2 separate regions of the Homo sapiens genome follow, and region 2 is linked to region 1. Evidence: promoter capture Hi-C in 16 types of primary human blood cells and fetal thymus (Javierre and others, 2016). All regions are on one chromosome and are shown on one strand. Each heading gives the region's core, a stretch centred on a gene start or on the middle of the fragment in contact. The rest is flanking DNA. Distances are from core to core; before and after follow the strand shown.

Region 1 (5,421 bases), core at 1,300-3,799:
ATAACTAAGGTCAGTCTGTAGGCCTACATGACTGATAAGGGCTATATGCTGAGTCTTGGGTCCTGTGAGTCCTTTTGGCAAATCTGCAGGCCTGAGGATAGTCAGGCATTCCTGCCACAGTCTAAAGAGCTATTCACCTAATACTACAATACCAGGGGGTTCACCACGTATATATAAGCTAACCAACTCATTACCTTTGTGTTCTTGTTATGATCTGGCGTCAATTTTCTTTTTTTATTGCTGTGAAATTCTACCACTTCTACTTGTTCCCTATTGTTCTTTAGGGAAGAGGGAGGAACTGCAGCAGCAAGGATCTCTGGTCCTGTGGGGGTCCCAGAAGGAGCACAATGCCGCTCTTCTCTAAGTTCCTTGAAGAAGCTCGAAGCGCTCTTCCTCTGGCCTCTTATGAGAGAACCAGGTAGGGGAGATGGCTCTGCTGCCAAGGCCGCTGAAGCCATCACATCTCTCTTCTTGTTTTCCCTTTTCTTTATGATCTTCTTCTGTTCTGTTTCACCTTCTGTACCTCCTGTTTGTTCAAACACAAGAAGGAAAATAAATATTTTCAGTCTTAGCTATCATCAGTATCAAATCCTACGAATGTATTTGTACATATTCCAGGGCTATATGCACCTAGAAGCACACACAAAGAAATAAACTATTTGTTTTCTTTCAAATAAGTGTATTTGCAAAATGCAGAGAATCCAAAATGTAGTCATCTTTTCCTAGGTAACTATGTCTTTGACCCTTATTAGCACAATCACTTTAGTCTCCACTTTGGTTCCTACTCAAAGTGTCATCACAGCAATAGTCCCCAGGGCTGGTAATCCCAATTGGCTTTATACTAAAAATATCAGGCACTGCAGCCACTGTTTCTTTTTAACACTTTCTGGGTTACAGGAACATGGAATAGTCTTCCTATTTTCTTTCACAGTTAGGAATTAAGATGAACCTAAGACAACTGGCTCAATTTGAATGCCTTTGTTTTCTATTAATTCCTCTTTCTATATTTCACTTGTTGAAGCTCTGACCAGTCACCTGAAAGTTCTAACCAGAATCCTAGGCATCCTTACTCACATGTATTACAAATACCACAGAGCTCTCTAAATTACCAGCTGCTGATTTATGCTTGCTACTATTTGCTTAATCTTTTATACAATAAACATTTAAGAGCCAACTAAACTTTGGCATTAAGGATATAAAAATGAATAGACACATTCAATGCCTTCAGAGCTCCTACCATGATTTCCAGCCTGTGTTGACATGAACTATATTATTTTGCAGAATAGTCTTTTCCTCTAGATTTTAAACTTCTCAAGGTCAGAGACTAAGTCTTCTCTGTCCTCCAATATGTCCAAGGGCACAGAAATGCTAGTTAATACAAGCATGGGGTCTGGGGCTAGAATCAGAACCCAGGCTCTGCAAAAATTACCAGTCAGACAACCTGCATCAGGTTTCATGAACTTCTAGTACTTGTTTCTACATCTGCAATCATGGATTTATGACAGTGTCTATTTCATGAAGTTGAAAATTAAATGAGCAAATACACGAAAAGCATGTGCTATATGGCAAGTTCTCAACAGTTTTAACTATTATTCCTACTGTTTAGGTGAACTTAGAATTTTGAGCAGTCATTCCAAAATAAAAATAGCTTTTAAAATATCACGCTGTAAATTTAAGAAATGTGTGTTGTCCTGAAATCTAATGATTTTCTTTGGTGCATGTGCAAAGGGTGTCACCTTCTCCCGGGAAAGCTCTTCAGAGTATGAGGCACTGTCTTCCTACTGACATGCCATGCGACTTTAATAGGCTCTTTTATTTTCCTTTTCCCCCATCAAGACAAAGAACGGAGAGTAAAAGATCAGCGCACTTGTTTAAAAAAAAAAAAGTCGTGAAAAGGACAACTCGCCAAGGACTATGATGTCTCTGGAGAGGGACACACAAGGATGAAGCTGGTGTATTATCCAACAGGCCCGAGGCCCCAGAGCGAAATGACACCATCGCACCAGGGTCAGGCAGGTCTTGGGGGTGGCATGGGGAAAGGGGACTTCCCAGGGCTCAAGAAAACGTGGAAAAGCGGGCTACTTTTAAATCGGAAAGCCTTGGTGCTTCCTACAAGCAAGTAGGATGGTCCCCACACTTGGGGACGAGTTGGAAGGTTTGATGAATAACTCAGCAGAGCCCGGTCGAGGGGTGACTTCCGATGGAGAAATGTGTTCGCTACTGGAACCAGGTGGGACGAAGGGTGCTTGACATGCAAGAACCTTTAGCCTCAAAGCAGAGGCCAACCCAGGACGGGCAACACAGGAGACCCACGTTCCTCAAATCTGTTCTCCACGTGGGCTCCTGGGACCCCGCACTCACCAAAGTCGTAAAGGTTCTGGAGCAGAGCGTCAAGAAGTGTCGGAGAACTGGGAGGCGTGGAGGACCCCGGCCCTTGCTCCTGCGACATTGTGGGGTCAGCCGAGGAATCAACCCTCATTCTGCCGCGCTGCACCCCCGCTTCCGGGTTCCGCGACTGCGCGCATGCGCTGCAGGGCCCTGCGCGGCTTCCGTCCTGGCTGAGATGGCGGCGCCCGGGATCCTGTGTAGCGGCTGCAGAGGGTGCCGCCGCCCTAGGCGAAGTAGGGCCGTCCTGAGCGAAAGAACCGCCCCCAGCAGGAGCACCACCACGGCTTAGCAAAGAATCCCAGACCCCGCCCGGGAAGGCAGCCGCACCATGGAGTCTTCCAGTTCATCTAACTCTTATTTCTCCGTTGGCCCAACCAGTCCCAGCGCTGTCGTGCTCCTCTACTCGGTAGGCGCCCAGGGAAAAGAGGCCCAGAGCGGAGCCGCGCGAAATAGTACCCCTTTCTCCCAGTCCCTATTCCTCCGGCCCACCACCCTTGCCCAAAAGAGCTGGCCCCTAGGCTCCCGAGGAGGGGTTAGTTGGTTGGATTGGTTTCCAGGACAACAGTGTATCGCTGTGTGTCTGTGTGTGCATGCTTTTGGAAGTTTCTACGGATTATGGTTCCTTTGGTTCCTTTCCACTTTTTCCTTCTCTTTCTTTCTATCAGGCCCTGGGGCCTTCAGAAAGCTCCTGGACACGAGAATGAGGAATGAGAATTGGAGTCTCCCCATCTCTAGCGAGGGCATGTCGAGCTACCTTTTGGGCAAACCTGAGAAACTTGCGGGTTTGACCCGCCCTGAGATAGCCTGTGGCTCCGCACCCCGCCCTATGCTGCTGTTATATTCCTGGGAGTAGAGCACTTGGCTTGTATGTGGGAATAGAGTTTTAAACACTTCAGGAAAATTTAGAACTTCTAGACATTTTTATTGCCTGTTCTTGTCTTCCAGTCATTATTGTACCTTTTCCACAAATCATTTTGGAGGACAGCCAGCGCCACCCAGCTTCTCTCCCGCTTGTCTTTTTTTCCTCCAACCCCCTCTTCCTCTCTTGGTTTTAACGGGTCTTTTTGGCTGGCAGATGTTGGTCACCCACGATTTTCATGAAGAAATTATGAGATGGGAGCTTTATAGCCTTCAGGATTGCACAGACCTGGGGCAACTGGTTTGGTTTTTGTTTGTTTCTTGTTGTTTTTAACCACTAAATTAGTTTTTAGCTACTTTAGGAGAAAATGAAAGAATTCATTTTAAAAGCATATTAGCATATCCTGGTGATTACTGTCCAATTTTGGCTTAAATGTAGTGTTCATTTGTGCAGAAAGGTCAAAACAGGGATAACACAGCAGAGCAAGATAAACACCCCAGTTTTGAAAGAGAATATATGGGTTCCTTCAAATTGAGACACCAATATTCTTTGGAACATGGAGAAACTTCTGTTCCCTCTCTATCAAGACCTTTCGGTTTCTGATTGCTAACTGCCTATAAGCCTTATTATTTAGATATATCTCTTCATTGATCTTATCTTCCCCACAGTTCTGTGGTGGATATCAACTTTGTTTTCTGACTCTGCTACTCCAGAGCAGGCACGAAGGGAAGAGGGTTGCTGTGCAGATCCAGCTTTTAACATGTAGCTTTTTAAGCTCCCAACTGGTTTGTGAATTGGTTGGAATTTTCCTTTTGTACATTAAAGGAAGGAGTTGGTTTTGTTTGTTTGTTTGTTTGTTTTACTTCCCCTTTACCAACGGTTCTTTAATAAGACTTGAGTCCACTTTTTCATGTGAAAAACTATGGCAGTTGTATCTGAGCATTCTGTAGTTCTGATGCTGGACAGCAACCCACTCTTTACTGGTAGTTCTCACTACTGTTTTGTGACTGGATAACCTTTACTTCCACGGTAACCTTACTTTTTCTTAGTACTTCAGGCTGTTTTTATTTCCCCAGCTACGCTGTTATTGTGTAATATTCTGATCTAAAAGTAGCACTTTAGAAGCGTAGAAGATACTGCTGATTGCAGCAAACATTAGGAATATATACAGTATCCTACTCATTATTCTCAGTTTCCAAGATATAGAAGTTACAGATGCAGGCTCTGCCTTTAAGGGCACAAAAAGTCATAAAAGTAAACAAACAATCACAGTTAAGTATGGTAAGGGCAATGATTGAAGCATGCACAGCGTGTTGTGGGAGAGACAAGAAGGGGCACCTGACCAGTTTGGGAACTTGGAGAAGGTTTCTAAGAAAAGGTGATATCTAAGCTGATCTTCCTTTTTTGTTTTTGTTTTTGTTTTTGTTTTGTTTTGGAGACAGCCTTGCTCTGTTGCCAGGCTGGAGAACAGTGGCTCGATCTTGGTTCACTGCAACCTCCATCTCCGGGGCTCAAGCGATTCTCCTGCCTCAGCCTCCCGAGTAGCTGGGATTTTAGGCACACGCCACCCCGCCCTGCTAATGTTTGTATTTTTAGTAAAGACAAGGTCTCACCGTGTTGGCCAGGCCGGTCTTGAACTCCTGACCTCAAGTGATCTACTCACCTCCCAAAGTGCTGGAATTACAGGCATGAGCCACTGTGCCTGGCATGAGCTGAGTTTTTGAGCTGTGAATGGCAGATGAGGGAGAGGAAAACTGTCCTAGATGTTGATGTAAAAAAAACTACTCCCTTGCATATTTGGGGTTAGAATTAGTTAGATTTGGGTGGAAGAAAGGAGACATGAGAAACAAAGTAAGGAAGTAGGCAGATATTTCCTAAAGAAATTTTATGTGTCGTGTTTACATATCCTTAGGGATAAAATCTTAACTTTATGGGAGATTTTAATCTTACATCTATGTGTGTGTGTGTGTATACACATATATATATAAATATATGTGTGTATATGTATTTTTTTTTTGACATGGTGTCTCACTCTGTCACCCAGGCTGGAGTGTAATGGCACAATCTTGGCTCACTGCAACCTCCACCTCCAGGGTTCAAGAGATTCTCCTGTCTCAGCATCCCAAGTAGCTGGGATTACAGTTGCCTGCCACCACACCCGGCTAATTTTTGTA
Region 2 (5,421 bases), core at 1,323-3,822, 570 kb before region 1:
TTTCACGGAACTGAATCTAGTGTGCTAAATTAAAGAACTATTTGAACTTTCAGTGGCATATTAAATTCAGTAGCCACATTGTGTTTTATTTAAACTCAGCTTATCTTGTCATATCATTCTTGTCTCCCAATTTTATCACAAAAAATAAAATAATGAACTAATATATTTTCTTCTGTCTTTCTCTGCCTCAAACCCTTCCCTAATCTGAATGATGGTAGAAAAAAAGGCCAGGATGAAGACAGTGAGGAGTTGTGGTGGCGAATCATGTGCTCTGCTTTAAATCTTTTTTTAAAAGTTGTTATTTTATTTTCAGACTCCCAGGGAAGCAGATGAGAGTGCATGGTTTGTCAGCCCATGTCTCCCCCACAGTTGTATCTGTACAGCCTAATCCAAGGAAGTAGTTTTGAATGTGACCTGTTATTTACTTCACTGTTTAGAAAATGTGTCACAGGGAGGAGGGTGAGTGTGAGGAAGCAGATTTGTAAAGTTTTCTTTATTGTTTTCTCTGAAATAGATCGTTTGTACTTCCCTTTTAAATGCTTTTTTAAAAAATGATTTTTCTTTTAATAGGTGATTATAGAGCAGTTTGTTGAATCTCATCCCAATGGCCTTCAGGTCATGTATAATAAACTCCTGGAGTTTGTTCCTCACCATTGCCGCCTTCTTCGAGAAGTCACAGGAGGTGCCATCTCCAGGTAATTTAAACAACCCTGTGTGGACCCCCACCTCCCTTTCAGTGACCGCACCTGCTAATTGCAGGTGCACGATGGACGATGACTGTCTTGTATGAACTGTCTTGTATGAATCCATTATGAATCTTGTTATTTCATTGTTTCTACTGGTGATACTGTGAGGCAGATTCCATTAGCCTCATTTCAAAGTTGTGGAAACTGAGATGAAGCTGAGACTGAAGACCACATTTCCGAATCCAAAGCCTAGCCTTTCTTCTTCTCTGCACTTTTTCCTAAATTTAGTTTGAAGTCAGAATTGCTTTCCTTCCATGATTCTAATATGTCATAATCTGTCTATAAATATTAATTCAGTTTATTTCAACAGGTTTTATACTAATTGTGAACTCATCTTCAATTTTTCCTCCTTTTGTTCAGTTTCCATGACTTCCTGATTCTCTTTCATAAATATCCCATTACTTTTCACCATTGCCATTGTCCCAGTCCAGGCCTTGTCATCTGCTGTCCACAATAATAGAATCTTCCCACCCTGTCTCCCTGCTTCCAGTCTCTCCCTCTCTAGTCTAGGCTTCTGACTGTCACATTTACCCAGAAATCTGAGATTCATAGATTTCTTCATGAATCTTTAGTGGCTTCTCAGTGCGCATGGAGGAAGATCCAGGCTTCTCGAAGCAGGGCATGAGGCCCTTTTTGTTCTTGCCTGGTAGCTCTCCACTGTAGAAACTTTCCCTCCATAGCCCTGGATGCTCCAGCCACACAGTGCTAGCTGCCTTTCCCCAGCTCCCTTGTACTCACGTGCTTCTGCGTTTTTCCTCTGCCTGCCCTCCCCTTCCTGTGCCCTTTGTTTTCCTGTCAAACTGCCTCTCCACATGAAGCTCCAGCTCAGATACCACCTCCTTCAAGAGACCATCCTTGACCGGGCGTAGTGGCTCACACCTGTGATCCCAGCACTTTGGGAGGCCAAGGCAGGTGAATCGCTTGAGGCCAGGAGTTCAAGACCAGCCTGGGCAACATGACAAAACCCCATCTTAAAAAAAAAAAAAGGCCATTTTTTCTCCTAATGTTCAGCATTCATCATGTCCTCTGGATTGCAGGATGTGTTGCTCTTGGGTCTGCTGAGTACTGATTTCCATGTTGCATTATGATCACCTCTCCGCTGCTCACACCTTCCCCTGCCTCTTGACACAGTGTCTTAGAGCTAGCAGCTGCCCAGTTAGTGCTTGCAAAATGAAAGAATTAACTATGTTTAATGATCGAAAGGCAAATAAGGTCTCTGTTTTCATGGAGCAAGCAATGTATTTGGCCTTGAGTTTTTGTTCTTTGCAGAAATATGGGGTAATTAATATGCTGCTTGGCCTTTGCAGTACCCTCTCTGTTTCCTCTGTACCACCTAAGATGAAGTCTAGTTTTGCTACTTTTGTTTAGTAATCATAAGGATTTAGTTGGATTTGGGGATAAGAACATAGTAGAAATCATGATGTAAAATGAAGCCATAGATATGAAACAATCAGCCATTAGATTTGACAGGGCCAGTCTGGGTCCAGAGATGTCAAGCTTCAAAGCTTTAGTGGATCTTTTCCACAGTTTTTAGTGTGGGGGAATTCATGTAGAAGGCTTAGAGATTTGAGGAATCTGAACTGTACCTTGCGAGATCATCATCTGCCGCTAGCCTGTCACTGTGTTGCAGGTTCTGCATATCCCTTTCCTTCCCTTGCTCGGCTCCTGGCTTCAGATTTCCAGCTTGGTGCTCCCCTTGTCACTCCTTTCTTTTATCATGTGCCACCCTTCATGAGCTTTATAACTGGCAACACCAACAACATTCGTGATTTCTCCTCCAGAGAATACAGATGAGCTTTTCTAATCCATCAACTGTTAATCTTGCAGGTTTTACATTCTCTCTTTGGGGATTTGATTAGACATTAACTTTGGGAATGAGGAAATGTTGTCATTTAATAGTGATTACATTATGTATATCTGTAGTTTGGAGTCCTCAATTTTGTGCTTTCTTTCTCTAGATACCTTAACAGAGCCTGCTCTTCCTATTATTTGGAAGTGTATAATATGATGTGTGGAATTGGATATATGGGAGGCAGTCATCTTCTTTCCCCTTCCTGGCCCTCCTCCACCCCCACCAGTAATTTCCTAACAATACTTAGGTGAAACTATAATAACATTATTTGCTAGCTCTTCCTGGACAGTGAAGCAAAGCTTCCTTGATAACTTATCTGTCTTGATAATTTTTGTTAAGCAGGAAAATTATGAAAACTTTAAAAAAATTTATTTTAATACTTACCAGAATGTTAAGTCCCGTTTTGACATGGCAACTTAGCTACAAAACTCCCAGTTTTGCTAAAATAGAACATTTATTAAATTGTTTGCCATTTTAAAAAATTACCTTGAAATAGAGCAGAATACCCAATATGAAACAAAGTGGGCAGATTAGTGAAATGGTGTTTGCCTAGAATGGATGTTTATGGATCTTTGAGTTTGTGAGCGACTTAAGGAATCTCCGTTATTTAACCGTTACTAACATAGGGCTTTTACTATATGTTAGGCACTATCCTAAGTACTTTACAAATATTAATTCTTATAATGACTTTGTGAAGTTGGTACTATGATCATCACCATTTTAAAGATGAAGAAACCAAGCACAGAGAAGTTAAATGATTTGCCCGCCCTCCAATATCTGAATCAGGCACACCAGCTCCAAAGCGCATGCTTTCTGTCAGTGCTGCCTGTCATCTACATTTGGGAATTTGGAATTTAAAAGTCTGGTGCTAAAAAAAGACAAAACAAGACAGGCACACACACAAAATAAAACATTAATCTGTTAACAGGTTTTTGTGTCAAGATTTGTGATAAGATTTCACATTTGATAGTCATAGAATTTTAGAACTGAAAGTAATCTTAGAGATAGCTTAGTAAATACAAAGCTGTTAGTAATTTATAAATTAGCATAACTTACAATGCTGTGTGGTTTAGTGGTGTTCAGTAATGTGAAGGTTATTTTTCCTGTGGTATTAGACTACTGTACTTTTTGTTTCCAAGATAGGAGTATAAAGGGGTTGGGAAGTATTTTAGAGGGAAAAGTGTACCAAGGTGATTTTATGTGGCTTCCCTTAGCCTTGACACCAGCTGGAGGAGTCAGGATCTAGGAGATTTGCCAGGTTTGAGGTGAGACTGAAATTAAGGAGTGAAATAGAAACTTGAGTCTGGAAACAAACTAAATTACAAATACGGTTTTTTTAAAAAGTTGAAATAAGTTTTAGACTGCGGATCTTTTGGCAGAAGCAACACAGTGGAAATTTGCTCTTTGTAAGTAGATTATGGTATATTTTACTGATATGTGCCCTTATTTTACAGTGAAAAAGGCAATACTGTTCCTGGATATGACTTTTTGGTGAATTCTGTTTGGCCACAAATAGTACAAGGATTAGAAGAAAAGTTACCCTCGCTTTTTAATCCTGGGAATCCCGATGCATTTCATGAGGTATCTCCCCGCCCGTCGTCTTGATTCTTGAAGATGTTAACCGGAGACTGGAGAAATATCATGTTCTCTTCTACTTAGTCTTGGTTCTGTGGTTTATTAAAAATAAAAATTTGAGTTGCTAAGTGAACATTTAACCTTAAAACACACACATCGTTTTATCCAAGATATGATGTATGATACTTTTAGGAATAAGAACATTTTCATTTTATAATATAAAGTATAATTAAGGCTAGATACAAGTGTGAGTAGAAATGTACATTATTTTCTAACTTTCTTAAAAACATCCTGAGGACCATTAAAAGCCAGTGTTTTTGCAGTTTTCTGTGAAAAATTAAGTTTGTACATCTCTGCCATATAATTTTGAATGAAAACAGAAAGTATTCACTGAATGTTTTCCAGCAGCAAGTACAAAGGAATTGGTTGGATTTTAAAATATACTACATAAATGTCCTTTATGATTTAAAAAGTTAGAAAGCCCCAATATTTATTTGTTTTTTTAATTTATATTTTATTTTATTATTACTATTACTATTTTTGAAACAGGGTCTTACTGTGTTGCCCAGGGTGGAGTGCAGTGGCACAATTATAGCTCACTGCAGTCTTCGACTCCTGGACTCAAGCGATCCTATGCCTCAGGCTGCTTCCTGAGTAGCTGGGATTTCAGGCGCACACCACCATGCCTGGTCAATTTTTCTTTTCTTTTTCTTTTTCTGTGGAGATGGGTCTCACTATGTTGCCTAGGCTAGTGTTGAACTCCTAGCCTCATGCACTCCTTCCCCCTCAACCTTCCAAAGTGCTAGGATTTCAGCCCCCATGTCCAGCCCTATTCCACCCCTGCTTCCCCCGCCCTCTTAAAAAAGAAATCATTATTTAAAAGATTTCATGGTTAGGATTTCAAAAATCAATGTGTAAGTTTGCTTTCCATTCTATCATTTTAAAGGCTCAGCCTCTTGGCACTTTTCTTCCTTCTTCTTCCCTGGATTTCAGTTTTTGGTTTCTTATGCAGTGAGATAATCTTTGTCTTTTAATTAGGTACTTTATTAAATTTACAGTGATTCTAACTGTCAATGCATTTGACTCTTATTTTATACTTTCTCTTTGTTCCAGTTTTCTTCCCTTATTTCCTTCCTCCCATCTTTTCTTCCTCCCTTCTTTTTTCACCTTCTTCGTATTTTAGACTTCTGGGGATCTGTTTTCCATCTTTATTCCATTTTGTCCCCTCTACTAATTTGGAAGTTGTGC

Evidence for each region. Contacts are between HindIII fragments. The CHiCAGO score rates a contact against its expected background, and 5 or more counts as called.
Region 2: a contact is called between a fragment that was not itself captured here and the fragment with the promoter of GNPAT in region 1, in 1 of 17 cell types (total B cells). The highest score is 5.4, in total B cells.

The regions. Positions count from the first base shown.
Region 1 is chr1:231,238,663-231,244,083 of GRCh38, forward strand. GNPAT (glyceronephosphate O-acyltransferase) reads left to right here and starts at 2,550. Exons shown (of 16, transcript NM_014236.4): 1 at 2,550-2,794. The coding sequence starts at 2,717. FSAF1 (40S small subunit processome assembly factor 1) reads right to left here and starts at 2,513. Exons shown (of 7, transcript NM_152379.4): 1 at 2,362-2,513; 2 at 195-526. The coding sequence starts at 2,479. RefSeq lists enhancers at 2,243-2,582, 2,563-3,452. The HindIII fragment of the contact is 8,993 bases long and covers 1-5,421 here.
Region 2 is chr1:230,670,946-230,676,366 of GRCh38, forward strand. COG2 (component of oligomeric golgi complex 2) reads left to right here. Exons shown (of 18, transcript NM_007357.3): 8 at 571-695; 9 at 4,053-4,179. LOC107985358 (a long non-coding RNA gene) reads right to left here. Exons shown (of 2, transcript XR_001738517.1): 1 at 5,341-5,421; 2 at 4,000-4,265. Among named protein-coding and RNA genes, the nearest start is that of COG2, 31 kb to the left of the region's middle. The HindIII fragment of the contact is 646 bases long and covers 2,250-2,895 here.